Linked DNA regions of Homo sapiens: all the other regions are linked to region 3. The links are contacts of gene promoters, found by promoter capture Hi-C in human tissues and cell types (Jung and others, 2019). All regions are on one chromosome and are shown on one strand. The core of a region is centred on a gene start or on the middle of the fragment in contact, and the rest is flanking DNA. Distances in the headings are between cores, read along the strand shown. Region 1 overlaps RAPGEFL1 (Rap guanine nucleotide exchange factor like 1). Region 2 overlaps LOC105371767 (a long non-coding RNA gene). Region 3 holds the start of NEUROD2 (neuronal differentiation 2).

Region 1 (4,996 bases), core at 1,423-3,922, 580 kb before region 3:
GTTGGCAACGTCCTCAGGCTCCACTCGGTGGATCTCTGTGTCTCCAGGGGAGACCTGGATCTCCTCGGGGAGGGGCACCTGGTGGCAGGCAGGGGCATAGGGGCTGGGCTCCTGGTGGCAGGGTGAGGGATTGCTCACAGCCCTCCTCAGCCCTCCATTCCAGTCAAGGCCTTGGGAAGTTCTTACCAGAGCCTCATAGCTGTCCCGAGTACAGGCAAACAGGTGGCTGTTGATGCCCAGTGCGGTGAAAACACAGTCCTCAGTGGGCTGGAGAAGGACCTTCTCTGCAGGAGAAAGAGCTGCTCATCCTCGGCCCCTGCCGCCTGCACCCTCACACATCCCACACTGACACTGTCCTATCCAAAAACTCCTCACCCCACACTGACACATTCTAGACTAATGGAACTCATCTTATCACTAGTTTATGCCATATTTATCTGGAATTTGTCAAATGATTATTTCTTTTGCATTTATAACTTTTTTTCTACTCCCTTTCTTTCACAGCTTTTCTCTTACTCTGTTGTCCTTGTGACACTGGGAAGGCTGAAATTTTTTCCTACTGTAGAGGAAAACAAAGCTTCAGTGACATTGCTGGCTTTCTGCCTTCCCACTCATCCTGTGTCTTTAGCCTGTGAAATGTGGCATCCTTACATACACAGGGAGGTTAAAGGATCAGAATACAATCCATAGGTGAGTGAGGGGCAGCACTCAGATCAGAACCTGAGTCCTAGACCAGTGCCTCCCAAACTTTTTTTTTTTTTTTGAGACGGAGTTTCGCTCTTGTTGCCCAGACTGGAGCACAGTGTCTTGATCTCGGCACTGCAACCTCCGCCTCCGCGGTTCAAGTGATTCTCCTGCCTCAGCCTCCCAAGTAGCTGGGATTACAGGTGCACACCACCATGCCCAGCTAGTGCCTCCCAAACTTTAGTAGGCATAGGAGTCCCCTGGGGGGTCCTGTCCAAATGCTGATTTGAACAAGACCAGCAGGTCGGGGTGGGGTCGCAGATGCTGCATCTCTTTTAGAGACAGAGTCTTGTTATGTTGCCCAGGATAGGGCGCAGTGCCTATTCACAGGTGCAATCATAATGTACTACCTTGGATTCCTGGGCTCAAGCAATCCTCCTGCCTCAGCCTCCTGAGTAGCTGGGACTGCAGGTTTGCACCACTGCACCCAGCAAGATGCTGCATCCTAACAAGTTCCCAGGCGATGCACATGAGGCTTGTCCCGGGACCATACTTTGAGTAGCAAGGGCCTAGAATTCAGTCTCTACCCCTCCCCCAGAGCCCTGAGCTTGTGAGTTTCTCCTCTCGGAGCATCAGCCCAGTTCTTCCTGACCCTCACCTCCAGAGGAGGACACAGCTACCAGGATGAGGGAATCCTCACGCCCCGCGGGCTCCTCTGAATATTGAAGTTTCTCCGTCACAGAGCCCAGAATGTCCTGCACAGATGCTGAAAGGCGGCTGCGTATGGTCACATAAGAGTGGTCAGGCATGTATACACGGCAGAAGACTGGACGGAAACAGGAAAATGGCTTTCAACAGAGGGCAGAGTGGCAGCAGCTGGCACAGTCTCCTCCAGGGTGCCTCTATTCCCCACCAGAGGCTGGCCTCTGAAGAAGGTCCTGTGAAAGGGGCTGGTTCTACCACCCAGGGAGATGCCACTGAGGGTGCTCAAGACCCAGAGATATGTCCCCCTGAGCCACTCAGGACACCCTGCCCCTCCTAATGCCCACACTCACTCTCATCAGAGCCCCGGAAGGCCACCCGGGTCTGCAGACAGGAGTCTATCCGGCGGAAGTGGCGGAAGAGTGGCTTCACCTGCTTGCTGGGTGGCTGGTTCTCCTCTGGAATCCTGGCATGGACACAGCTGGGCATCAGCACGCCCTGCCAGGCATATGGACAACCAACACCAAGCAGGCAACATCAAGCAAGAATATCAGAATTGGGTCAAGGATGCACCAGCAGCAATTTCAGGTGGTTAAGGGGGTCAGAAGAGAGGACAATGAGCAGTATGGGATAATTATCCAAGTAACCCTAATCAAATGCCACCTCTTCCATGAATTCTTCTCTGATCCACCCCACCCACCAGGAAGGTCACTTTCTTCTCTCAACTACTATAGAACATTGGGATAATGTTTATGTTCACCTCTTATCTCTTCTATGAGATTGAGAGCTCTTGAGGACTGGGATTTGGTTCTTACTGAGTATCTTTTCATCCACCAGGGCCTAACACACTGCTTGACACATGGTAGGTAGTAGGTCAGCAGCTGTTTGCTGAATTTTGCTGAAAAGAACTTCACAGTCTAGGAAGGAGATAGACAGGCATACAGCTACTTCTAATACCAGGCAGGAGGTGTTGATAATATAACAAAGGTACCAGGAGAGTTATGCTGGTGTGGGGGAAGAAGAAAGCTATTCCTAAAAGGAAGATCTGGGAAGTTTTCATTGAGAAGATGGCATTTGACCTGGGCCTTGGAGGAAAGCAGGAAGAGAAGGAGGTGGAGGCCAGGTGCAGTGGCTCACACCTGTAATCCCAGCACTTTGGGAAGCTGAGGTGGGCAGATCACTTGAGGCCAGGAGTTCAAGACCAGCCTGGCCAACATGGTGAAACCCCGTCTCTACTAAAAACACAAAAATTAGCCAGGCGTAGTGGCGTGCACCTGTAATCCCAGCTACTTGGGAGGCTGAGGCAGGAGAATCGCTTGAACCCGGGAGGGGGAGGTTGCAGTGAGTTGAGATCACGCCATGCACTCCAGCCTGGCAACAGAGCAAGACTCCATCTCAAAAAAAAAAAAAAAAAAAAAAGGCCAGGCGCGGTGGCTCACGCCTGTAATCTCAGCACTTTGGGAGGCCAAGGCGGGCGGATCACGAGGTCAGGAGATCTAGACCATCCTGGCTAACACGATGAAACCCCGTCTCTACTAAAAAAAATATAAAAAATTAGCCGGGCGTGGTGGCAGGCGCCTGTAGTCCCAGCTACTCAGAAGGCTGAGGCAGGAGAATGGTGTGAACCTGGGAGGTAGAGCTTGCAGTGAGCCGAGATCACACCACTGCACTCCAGCCTGGGCGACAGAGCCAGGCTCTGTCTCAAAAAAAAAAGAAAACATGGTGGGAGGAGGGCATTCTGGGGTGGACAATATAACCGACCATGGGAAGTTCGAGAGCGCAGGAGTTGAGGTGTCATGGATGGAGGGGATGTAGGAGATGAGATGGGAAGGATCAGCAGAAGGCAGAAAGGGAAGGGTATTGAATGCTGGGATGTTTCACTTTCTCTTGGAAGCATGGGGAGCAGGGATGCCTTTGGAACAGGAGCATGAAAGATCTCTCTAGTGTCAGCACAGAGAAGGCAGAGAAGGATGCTAGACCACAAGCTGAGGCCTCCCTAAGGGTTGTGGTGGTGGGGACAAGAGAAGAGAGAAACTAAAAGGGCAGAATGGATTCATGGATGGATGGATACAGTGGTGTCCTGAAGCTGGTTCACACTGGCTCACAAGAGCATACTGTTAAGTTCTGGGGAATTTTACCAACTGTTTTTTAAAGAGCCATTAAAATATAAATAAACAAATATATCTCCATATATAAATATATATGTTTTATAAACTTATAGTCAGGCCAGGTGTGGTGGCTTACACCTAGAATCCCAACACTCTGGGAGGCCAAGGTGGGAGGATTGCTGGAGCCCAGCCTGGACAACATAATGAAACCGTCTCTATTAAAAAATAATAATACAAATTAATAAATAATACATAAAATTTATAATCAAATAAGTTGTTACCAAAAAAACAGTTTCCTTCCTGTTTTCACTACTTTTTTTTTTTTTTTTTTGAGACAGAGTCTTGCTCTGTTGTCAGGCTGGCGTGCAGTGCTGCAATCTCGGCTCACTGTAACCTCCACCTCCTGGATTCAAGCAATTCTCCTGCCTCAGCCTCCCGTGTAGCTGGGATTACAGGTGTGTACCACCACGCCCGGCTAATTTTTGTATTTTTAGTACAGACAGGGTTTCACCGTGTTGGCCAGGATGGTCTCGATCTCTTGACCTCATTCTGCCTGCCTCGGCCTCCCAAAGTGCTGGGATTACAGGCATGAGCCACCACACCCAGCCCACCTCTTTTTTTTTTTTTTTTTTTTTTTTTTTTTTTTTTTGAGACGGAGTCTCGCTCTGTCGCCCAGGCCGGACTGCGGACTGCAGTGGCGCAATCTCGGCTCACTGCAAACTCCGCTTCCCGGGTTCACGCCATTCTCCTGCCTCAGCCTCCCGAGTAGCTGGGACTGCAGGCGCCCGCCACCGCGCCCGGCTAATTTTTTGTATTTTTAGTAGAGACGGGGTTTCACCTTGTTAGCCAGGATGGTCTCGATCTCCTGACCTCATGATCCACCCGCCTCGGCCTCCCAAAGTGCTGGGATTACAGGCGTGAGCCACCGCGCCCGGCCTTTTTTTTTTTTTTGAGACGGAGTCCACTCTGTCACCCAGGCTGGAATGCAGTGATGCAATCTTGGCTCACTACAACCTCTGCCTCCTGGATTCAAGACATTCTCCTGCCTCAGCCTCTTGAGTAGCTGGGATTACAGGCATGTGCCACCATGCCTGGCTAATTTTTGTATTTTTAGTAGAGATGGGGTTTCACCATGTTGGTCAGGCTGGTCTCGAACTCCTGATCTCATGATCTGCCTCTCATGATCTGCCTGCCTCAGCCTCCCAAAGTGCTGGGATTACAGGCGTGAGCCACCGCACCCGGCCTTTTTTTTTTTCTTTAGAGACGGAGTCTCGCTCTGTCACCCAGGCTGTAGTGCAGTAAGGTGATTTCAGCTCACTGCAACCTCCATCTCCTGGGTTCAAGCAATTCTCCTGCCTCAGCCTCCTGAGTAGCTGGGACTACAGGCACGTACCACCACCCCCAGCTAATTTTTCTTTTCTTTTTTTTTTTTTTTTTTTTGAGACAGAATCTCACTCTGTCGCCCAGGCTGGAGTGCAGTGGCATGATCTCAGCTCACTGCA
Region 2 (4,988 bases), core at 2,208-4,707, 590 kb after region 3:
ACATTCTTTTTTTTTTTTTTTTTTGAGACAGAGTCTCGCTCTGTCACCCAAGGCTGGAGTGCAGTGGCGCGGGCTAGGCTCACTGCAACCTTCTAATGTGAAGTGTCTACTAGCCCAGTGGTCTCTATTCCATCTTTGAACTTACTTTGATTCCCACCTGATGCCTTACCATTTCATCTTTTGGTTTCTAAAAGCAGAAAATAAGAGCATTTTTCTGAAAGTTTCCTCATCTCCTCATCTCACACTTGTTTTCCTTCCTTCCTTCCTTCCTTCCTTCCTTCCTTCCTTCCTTCCTTCCCTTCCTTCCTTCCTTCTTTTTATAGGGGCTCACTCTGTTACCCAGGCTAGAGTTCAGTGGCACTATCATAGCTCACTGCTGCCTGGAATTCCTGGGCTCAAGTGATCCTCCTGCCTGAGCCTCCAGAGTAGCTGGGACTACAGGTACACACCACTGTGCCTGGGTAATTTTTTTTTTTTAAGACATGGTCTCGCTTTGTTGCCCAGGCTGGTCTCAAACTCCTGGCTTCAAGTGATCCTCCTGCCTTGGCCTCCCAAAGTGCTGAGATTACAGGTGTGAGTCCCCATGTCCGGGCTCACACCTCAGTTTTTTTGTTTTGTTTTGTTTTGTTTTTTGTTTGTTTGTTTTGAGACGGAGTCTCACTCTGTCACCCGGGCTGGGGCTGGAGTGCAGTGGCGCGATCTCGGCTCACTGCAAGCTCTGCCTCCTGGGTTCACGCCATTCTCCTGCCTGCCTCAGCTGGGACTACAGGTGCCTGCCACCACGCCTGGCTAATTTTTTGTATTTTTAGTAGAGATGGGGTTTCACAGTGTTAGCTAGGATGGTCTCGATCTCCTGACCTCATGATCCACCTGCCTCGGCCTCCCAAAGTGCTTGGATTACAGGCGTGAGCCACCACACCCAGCCCTCAGTTTTTAACATATGTATAAAATATTAACTGTGTTTGGTTCAAAGGACTTTATGATCTTACAGATAGGAACTAAGGAATAATAACATAAGAAATACAAAACTGTGGAAACGAAAATGTTCAATCATAATATGATTAAATGGTGGCCAGGCGTGGTGGTTCACGCCTGTAATCCTAGCACTTTTCGAGGCCGAGGCAGGCGGATCACCTGAGGTCAGGAGTTCAAGACCAGCCTGGTCAACGTGGTGAAACCTTATCTCTCCTAATAATACAAAAATTTGCCAGGCGTGGTGGCCCACGCCTATAATCCCAGCTACTCGGGAGGCTGAAGCATGAGAATTGCTTGAACCCGGGAGGCGGAGGTCTCAGTGAGTCAAGATCGCGCCACTGCACTCCAGCCCGAGTGACAGAGTGAAACTGTATCTCAAAAATAATAATAATGATATGATTAAATTCTAAGACATAATAAGGCGGGGGTCAAAGTAAGTTCAAATCTGGAATAGAGACCACTGGGCTGGTAGACACTTCACATTAGAAGCAAGGGCCAGGTGTCTACTCCCTGAGAACCAAAATTCCACCAGATACAATGAACAAAGTTTCAGAGAGAGAGAACATTTGAACATTTTATTGCAGAAACTGGCACACATACTCTATAGACAATACAACTTCCTTCCAGGCAAACTAGAGCCATAAGGCTTTTGGTCTAAGAGGTTTTGAAGGTGTGCAAGGGATACCTTCGAGTATGAGGGAGAGGTAAACAACCCACACATTCAGTTTGGTTCTTAAAGGTTGTTACTCAGACTTGACAGTTGATGACCAAGGAAGTAATACTTTCACTAGCAGGGCTGCCCAGGTTGGAAAGCTGAGAGCAATCAGGGCCGTCTCTTACAAGCAAATAAAGGTCTGTGGTAACTTAATTAGGATCTCTCAGTCTCTAAGCCTTCAGCACTGTGAAGCAGGAGCAACTCTGTTCAGGGACTCTTTGTTAATCATCAGGTTTCCTTTAGGCACAGCCTATAACATTTGTGCCACTGTAGAAGTGAATGGGGAATACAAACAATGCCATTCAATAGCATGACCACTTCCAAGGTTCACAGCAAAGCCGCTGATTATTGTATAAGAATCATACTTACGGCCTGCGCGGCAGCTCACGCCTGTAATACCAGCACTTTGGGAGGCTGAGGCGGCAGGATCACCTGAGGTCAGGAGTTCGAGACCAGCCTGACCAACATGGTGAAACCCCGTCTCTACTAAAAATACCAAAAATTAGCCAGGTGTGGTGGTGCATGCCTGTAATCCCAGATGCTCAGGAGGCTGAGACAGGAGAATCGCTGTAACCCGGGAGGCAAAGGTTGCAGTGAGCCAAGATCACACCACTGCACTCCCGCCTGAGCAAGAAGAGTGAAACTCCATCTCAAAAAAAAAAAAAAAGAAAAGAAAAGAAAGAAAAGGAAAGAAAAAGAGAAAAAGGTTTGGTTGGCTGGACATGGTGGCCCATGCCTGTAATCCCAGCACTTTGGGAGGCTGAGGCAGGTGGAGGCCAGGAGTTCAAGAACAGCCTGGCCAACATGGTGAAACCCCATCTCTACTAAAAATAGCCGGGTGTGGTGGCACAAATAGTGGAGAAAATTATGGATACCACCCTCCAAGTGATTGAGATTATTAATTCTAGGTAGCAGGCCAATTCAGACATATCCACTTATCCTCAATGGCAGGAGGCCTCTCATATCTCCTCACTACAACCCAGTTCAATATTTCTGTCTAAAGTCTAGGATTTCAATGTTGAAAGGAGAATAGGGTTGGTGAAAGAAAATCTACAAGGTTTGCCCTGATGATCCCTTTTGACCATCCATTGAAACCAAAGTAGCAATTTGTCAGTTCTTGGCATCGGGAACTGTTTAGGGCAATGGCCTGACATTGAACTGCCTTATGTCTGGTGCCGAGACGAAACTACAGTCACAAGAGATAGACCCATAAATATCACAACCTGCCAGAGATTTTATTTTGCATACACCTGACATTTATCAATACCAAGTGTGCAAAGAAAAGAAATTGTTTCAGTCTTCCCATTCAGTAGCTCCTGCTTGAGTATGTGACCTGAAGAACAGGTAAAAAGAACCCAACACCCATCCCCCTCCCCAAGTGACTAACCCGTGTTAAATGAAGAAATACACGTACCTCTATGAATTTTACAAGCAACTAAAACAACTAGAGGTTCATCTGCATTTATAAGCTTATTTGGGAATGCAAGTATCTACTGAGTGTTAATTCTTGAAATAATTTACACATTCCTGTGGATTTCTTACATCATCAATTCTTTTTGTTTTGTTTTGTTTTTTGAGACAGAGTCTCGCTCTGTCACCAGGCTGGAGTGCAGTGGCGCCATCCTGGCTCACTGCAACCTCCACGTCCCGGGATCAAGCGATTCTCCTGCCTCAGCCTCCCAAGTAGCTGCAACTATAGGTGTGCAAATCAATAAAGAATTAACTTTACTGTTAATTCTTATTAATTTCTAATACAAATAGATTTGACTTCATTTGTATCATTTGAATTTCATGAATATAATCATATACTACACTTAAAAAATAGACATATAAGAAAGAATTGGTGATGTAAGGCTGGGCACGGTGGCTCACACCTGTAATCCCAGCACTTTGGGAGGCCGAGGCGGGCGGATCACGAGGTCAAGAGATCGAGACTATCCTGGCTAACACGGTGAAACCCCGTCTCTACTAAAAATACAAAAAAAAAAAAATTAGCCGGGTGTGGTGGCGGGCACCTGTAGTCCCAGCTACTCAGGAGGCTGAGGCGGGAGAATGGCGTGAACCCAGAAGGCGAAGCTTGCAGTGAGCCAAGATTGCGCCACTGCACTCCAGCCTGGGCAACAGAGCGAGACTCTATAAAAAAAAAAATTAAATTACTTTCTCCAACTGAAGAGAAGGAGAAATGCATGTTGGGAAGGAGAAATGAAGACTAATTTTCGAATGTTGAGTGCTACCGGGAAGACTGGCCGGTATCATGAGTCACGGTGGAGTCTTTCTGGACAACCAGGATGCTTCAGAAGGACTCGGAGCTGCTGGGTGGTACAGACATTTGTCACCTTGGATAACCTTGCCACAGTTCTTGCTGGCAACAATTTCCCTTCATTTCACTGAAAAAAAAAAAAACAAAAACAAAAACAAAACCCTCTCAGGTGCCTTAGGCCTTTCCTTGATTTTATTTTAAAACATTATTCTCTTTTCTGTATTTATAAAAGGCAAAAAACACAGAAACTAGGTGTATGTGCTAAAGTAGAAAAGAACACTTAAACTAGATAACAGTGGGGGTCGAGTAGTAACCCCAGGCTCTAAGTTCAGTAAATAAATAAATCTAATATGAATTACATTTCTCCTCTCACCTGTCTGTTGAGTTGTAGAACATTTCCTTCATTGCTGCATCAGTGATGGGCTTTATGCTGTGAAATTCTCAAAACCTAAATCTTATGAAATGGTCTCAATGTCCAAAGAGCACTAAAAACTCATTACTTACAAAATGATACCAAGTAACTGTTTCATTTTTTTTTTTTTGAGATGGAATCTCGCTCTGTTGCCCAGGCTGGAGTACAGTGGCACGATCTTAGCTCACTGCAACCTCTGCCTCCCAGGTTCAAGTAATTCTCCTGCCTTAGCCTCCTGAGTAGCTGGGATTACAGCACGCACCACCACGCCTGGCTAATTTTTGTATTTTTAGTAGAGACGAGGTTTCACCATGTTGCTCAGGCTGGTCTCGAACTCCTGACCTCATGATCCACCCACCTCGGCCTCCCAAAGTGCTGGGAATACAGGCATGAGCCACTGCACCCAACCCGTTTCATAATCTTTACCGTACCTTTATATTTGAATGGCTATGTGAAATGGTCACAGGTTAGAAACATCATAGTCCAAAAGTTAAATAATACCTCGCAGGTAATTGTTTCAGTTACAGGAAGTGGAACCAGGACTGAAGAGGATTTTTATGGGTTCAGAATGGGAGAGTGTGTGCTGACTGGTTTGTGAGTATGCCAAAAAGGCTGAAAAAAAAAGG
Region 3 (5,105 bases), core at 71-2,570:
TCTATTTTTCTACACCACAGGGTGAGGAACAGGTATATGTGTGCATGTGTATGCATCCGTGTGTGTGTGTATGTGTGTGTGCATGAGTGTGTGTGTGTGTGTCCAAAGCCACCTCTTCAACCTGTGCCATTTGTATCTGTGTCTGGCCCAATGAGAGTGTTGAAAGGTGAGCCACAAGATAAAACAGCAACTTCCTACCTCCCTTATCAAGACAGCTGTCTGACCTACCTCCCCTTGGCCACTCTTGGGATTACTGGGGTTGGCTTCAGTATTTTCAGATTTTTCAGAAGGGGAGGAGAATGCTTGAGTCTCATCCAGGAACTTAGGCAGTTCTCAGCACTGCCTGCTCCTCCTCCCTCAAATAACCAAGTCTGAAGACCAGGAGAGAAAGCCGCTGGTGGACTGGTCACCTGTCTGGCAGTGGGAGGAGGAGAGTGAGAGGTTTCTAGGTTAGGAATCCAGACTTAGACCCTCCCCTCCACCCCCAGATGGGTGGTGCACAGGCTCATCTCGCGGCCCCTCCCCACTCCACCCTAACATGGATACGCCCCCAACAACCAAGGAAAGATCTCCCATCGGCTGACTCCACAGATACACACATGTCCCCACAGACACACACACGCCCATGCAGAGGCACAGACATCCAGGCACATCTTTCCCTTTCTCTGTCTTTCCCTTGGTTTGAATTTCGTTTAGCCACATATGTTGTGTGTGCGTGAGGGTGGGTGGGGGAGGGGCAGACAGGGATGAGGGATGGCATGGTGCCAACATCTACCTATGGGGCTCGGGCCAGGGACGCCCCTTACAGCCATCCTGGGAGGGGGTCTCAGCTGTCCCTTTGTGGCCAAGGGGACCCTCCTGGGGAGTGGGGGCAAGCACAGAGGTCCTTTCTCCCCAACCCGGGGTCTGGTCCCTGACCCACCTTGGGGGCCTGCAGGGGAGGAAATGGACAGAGCGGGACCCTGAGGGAGCATAGAATTGGCCACCACGAGCCCCCAGTGTCCAGCCTTGCCACCCCATTGTTCCCGTGAGGGGGTCTCTATATACAGGGGGCAACTCCTCCCACCTTCCTCTCAATCCCTGCTTTCCCTGCGTTGGGCGGGGAGGGGAGGGCGGCAGAAATATTTATTTATTTCCTTTATTTATTTAATTTTTTTTTTTTTTTTTGGAGTAGAGAGTGACAGATGGCGGCGGGTCCCGGGGGAGCCGGCTCTCCCCCAGTGCAGACGCATGCCAATCACCGTCTCTCATGTGATAGCTGCTGCCCGTGACGTGCCAAGCCCATATGGCCTGGCATAGAGGCTGGTACCCCGCCTGGTAGAGATGCCACACTCGCTCCGCGGTTCGCATGGCGCTCTGAAGACGCCGGCGCCCGCCGCCTTGAGGAGCCGCTGCCCCCGCTCCCTGAAGATGGGGGAACAATGAAATAAGCGAGAAGATCCCTCTTCTCCCCCCTCTCTCTCTTGCCCCCTCCCCCCCTCCCCTCCCCTCTCCCCTTGACTCCTCTCCGAGGTAAGTTGTCCGAAAGGGAGCGAGATCTGACCCGCCGGTTGGGAGGAGGGGCGGCAGCTTCGGCCGACAGGAGGGTCCTCAAATACCTCCTTCCTGGGATGATGCCCCCCTCATTGGGTGGGCATCGGAGGGGCCCCAGGTTCTCTCTCCCTTAGGGGCTGCAGCCCAGGGGGCTGCAGAGGAGGTGTCTCTGCCTGCGATGGGCTCGGTGGGGGGGGAAGGCAGGATCACGGAGGGGGATATGCGAAGAGGCCGAGACGGAGGACCCCTCCATGGTTGTCCCAAAAAGCCTGCCACCTTTCCCCACCACCGAAAAAAGGGAAGCAAACAAACAAATTTGGATTTTTCCCCCATCAATCCCAAAATACAACGAGATCTGAAGAGCCTTGTGGGAGGGAGTCAGCTTGAAGGGGGAAGGGGGTCCCTGACCGCAGAGGGGACGGACTGGGCTCGCTTCTCTCAGTCTCCTCCCCACGCCCCGCTGCTTCAGTCCTCGCCGCCCAGAGCCGGCTCCGGGAGCTGGGGACGCATCGGCTAGAGGAGACGATCCTCCCGCCTCTGGAATTGGGGGTGCGGGGGTGGGGGCCGAGCAAGGGGCGGCGCGCAGCCAAGTTGCAAATTGGATTAGGGAGCGTGGGGGTGAGAGCCACGGGAGGGGTGAGGGAGCTGGGCCGGGGGGCCCGGGCCGCGAGAGCGCGGAGCGGGGCAGCTGTCCCCACCGGCGGCCGACCAGCCTCTCTCCACCGCCAGGAGAGAACGGGCTTTCAGGGCGAGCGCGCCGCCTCCCCTGGCAAAGATATCTGGTCCCTAAAACCCCCACCCGGTCCCTGCCCTGACCCTGAGAAGAAGCAGGCGCGGGGAGCAGCCCCCCATTCAAGCGAGGGGCGGAGCCGGGGCCCAGCGCCGGGGAGAGGGCCTGGGCCGAGATCCCAGGCCGGCAGCCGGGTAGGGCTGGGCCGGCTCTGGGCGGGGCAGGCGGCGGAGGTGGGCATCCAGGGTAGCCTAGGCAGGAGCCCGCACGAGACTCGGGGGTGGAGGAGGGTTGTGGGGGGGCGTCGGTACCCCAGCGCGCCCCTCACTTTGTGCTGTCTGTCTCCCCTTCCCGCCCGCGGGGCGCCCTCAGGCACCATGCTGACCCGCCTGTTCAGCGAGCCCGGCCTTCTCTCGGACGTGCCCAAGTTCGCCAGCTGGGGCGACGGCGAAGACGACGAGCCGAGGAGCGACAAGGGCGACGCGCCGCCACCGCCACCGCCTGCGCCCGGGCCAGGGGCTCCGGGGCCAGCCCGGGCGGCCAAGCCAGTCCCTCTCCGTGGAGAAGAGGGGACGGAGGCCACGTTGGCCGAGGTCAAGGAGGAAGGCGAGCTGGGGGGAGAGGAGGAGGAGGAAGAGGAGGAGGAAGAAGGACTGGACGAGGCGGAGGGCGAGCGGCCCAAGAAGCGCGGGCCCAAGAAGCGCAAGATGACCAAGGCGCGCTTGGAGCGCTCCAAGCTTCGGCGGCAGAAGGCGAACGCGCGGGAGCGCAACCGCATGCACGACCTGAACGCAGCCCTGGACAACCTGCGCAAGGTGGTGCCCTGCTACTCCAAGACGCAGAAGCTGTCCAAGATCGAGACGCTGCGCCTAGCCAAGAACTATATCTGGGCGCTCTCGGAGATCCTGCGCTCCGGCAAGCGGCCAGACCTAGTGTCCTACGTGCAGACTCTGTGCAAGGGTCTGTCGCAGCCCACCACCAATCTGGTGGCCGGCTGTCTGCAGCTCAACTCTCGCAACTTCCTCACGGAGCAAGGCGCCGACGGTGCCGGCCGCTTCCACGGCTCGGGCGGCCCGTTCGCCATGCACCCCTACCCGTACCCGTGCTCGCGCCTGGCGGGCGCACAGTGCCAGGCGGCCGGCGGCCTGGGCGGCGGCGCGGCGCACGCCCTGCGGACCCACGGCTACTGCGCCGCCTACGAGACGCTGTATGCGGCGGCAGGCGGTGGCGGCGCGAGCCCGGACTACAACAGCTCCGAGTACGAGGGCCCGCTCAGCCCCCCGCTCTGTCTCAATGGCAACTTCTCACTCAAGCAGGACTCCTCGCCCGACCACGAGAAAAGCTACCACTACTCTATGCACTACTCGGCGCTGCCCGGTTCGCGGCCCACGGGCCACGGGCTAGTCTTCGGCTCGTCGGCTGTGCGCGGGGGCGTCCACTCGGAGAATCTCTTGTCTTACGATATGCACCTTCACCACGACCGGGGCCCCATGTACGAGGAGCTCAATGCGTTTTTTCATAACTGAGACTTCGCGCCGGCTCCCTTCTTTTTCTTTTGCCTTTGCCCGCCCCCCTGTCCCCAGCCCCCAGAGCGCAGGGACACCCCCATCCTACCCCGGCGCCGGGCGCGGGGAGCGGGCCACCGGTCCTGCCGCTCTCCTGGGGCAGCGCAGTCCTGTTACCTGTGGGTGGCCTGTCCCAGGGGCCTCGCTTCCCCCAGGGGACTCGCCTTCTCTCTCCCCAAGGGGTTCCCTCCTCCTCTCTCCCAAGGAGTGCTTCTCCAGGGACCTCTCTCCGGGGGCTCCCTGGAGGCACCCCTCCCCCATTCCCAATATCTTCGCTGAGGTTTCCTCCTCCCCCTCCTCCCTGCAGGCCCAAGGCGTTGGTAAGGGGGCAGCTGAGCAATGGAACGCGTTTCCCCCTCTCATTATTATTTTAAAAACAGACACCCAGCTGCCGAGGCAAAAAGGAGCCAGGCGCTCCCTCTTTCTTGAAGAGGGTAGAAGTTAGGGCGCCGGAGCCCGGGCCTGGAACGCCCTCACCCCCAACCTCCAGTCTCCGCGTTTTGCGATTTTAATTTTGGCGGGAGGGGAAGTGGATTGAGAGGAAAGAGAGAGGCCAAGACAATTTGTAACTAGAATCCGTTTTTCCCTTTTCCTTTTTTTAAACAAACAAACATACAAAAAAAAAAAAAAAAAAAAAAAAAAAAAAAAAAAAAAAAGCTAAGAGGCGACGGAAGCCGAACGCAGAGTCCGGATCGGAGAGAAAACGCAGTAAGGACTTTTAGAAGCAATAAAAGGCAAAAAAAACAAAAAACAAAAAAACAAACAAAAAAAAACCACTACTACCAATAATCAAAGACACAAATATCTATGCAAGGAGGCTCCACTGAGCCTCGCGGCCCGGCCCGGCCCCGGGATGCCCCGCCCGGCCTGCGGGCCGCCCCGCCCGAGCGCGGATCTGTGCACTTTGGTGAAGTGGGGGCCCGCGCCGCCCCCTCCCCCTCCCCAGGTTCTTACAATCAGTGACTCGGAGATTTGGGGCCCCAGTGCCACTGCCCTCCCCCGCCCCGTCCCCGTTGTGCGTCATGCTGTTTTTTAAAAACCTGTTTCCAAATTTGTATGGAATGGCAAACTGTTGGGGGGTCGGTTTGGGGAGGGAGGGTTTGCATGAAAGACACACGCACACCACACCGCACGCACAAGCAGGCCCGGCGCCGGCGTCCGGGGGGCAGAAGGAGGTGAGCTCGCCGGCTCCTCCTCCCCGCGGCCATTCTGTCCCCTCCTGGGGTGAGGGGTGGGGATGGAGACCTGGGGGCAGCCCCACCCCTGCCCGGACTGTG

Evidence for each region. Contacts are between HindIII fragments. The study calls those that stand out against the background at their distance.
Region 1: a fragment that was not itself captured here is called in contact with the fragment with the promoter of NEUROD2 in region 3 in 1 of the 25 tissues and cell types used here (lymphoblastoid cells).
Region 2: a fragment that was not itself captured here is called in contact with the fragment with the promoter of NEUROD2 in region 3 in 2 of the 25 tissues and cell types used here (dorsolateral prefrontal cortex and spleen).

The regions. Positions count from the first base shown.
Region 1 is chr17:40,185,722-40,190,717 of GRCh38, reverse strand. It overlaps RAPGEFL1 (Rap guanine nucleotide exchange factor like 1), which reads right to left. Exons shown (of 15, transcript NM_016339.6): 5 at 1,740-1,852; 6 at 1,343-1,510; 7 at 187-284; 8 at 1-78. Among named protein-coding and RNA genes, the nearest start is that of MIR6867, 5.4 kb to the left of the region's middle. The HindIII fragment of the contact is 6,392 bases long and covers 1-4,996 here.
Region 2 is chr17:39,021,282-39,026,269 of GRCh38, reverse strand. The region is part of intron 1 of LOC105371767 (a long non-coding RNA gene); the gene reads left to right. Among named protein-coding and RNA genes, the nearest start is that of LINC02079, 3.3 kb to the left of the region's middle. The HindIII fragment of the contact is 5,779 bases long and covers 568-4,988 here.
Region 3 is chr17:39,604,135-39,609,239 of GRCh38, reverse strand. It overlaps NEUROD2 (neuronal differentiation 2), which reads left to right and starts at 1,320. Exons shown (of 2, transcript NM_006160.4): 1 at 1,320-1,512; 2 at 2,636-5,105. The coding sequence starts at 2,641. The coding sequence ends at 3,789. The HindIII fragment of the contact is 16,482 bases long and covers 1-5,105 here.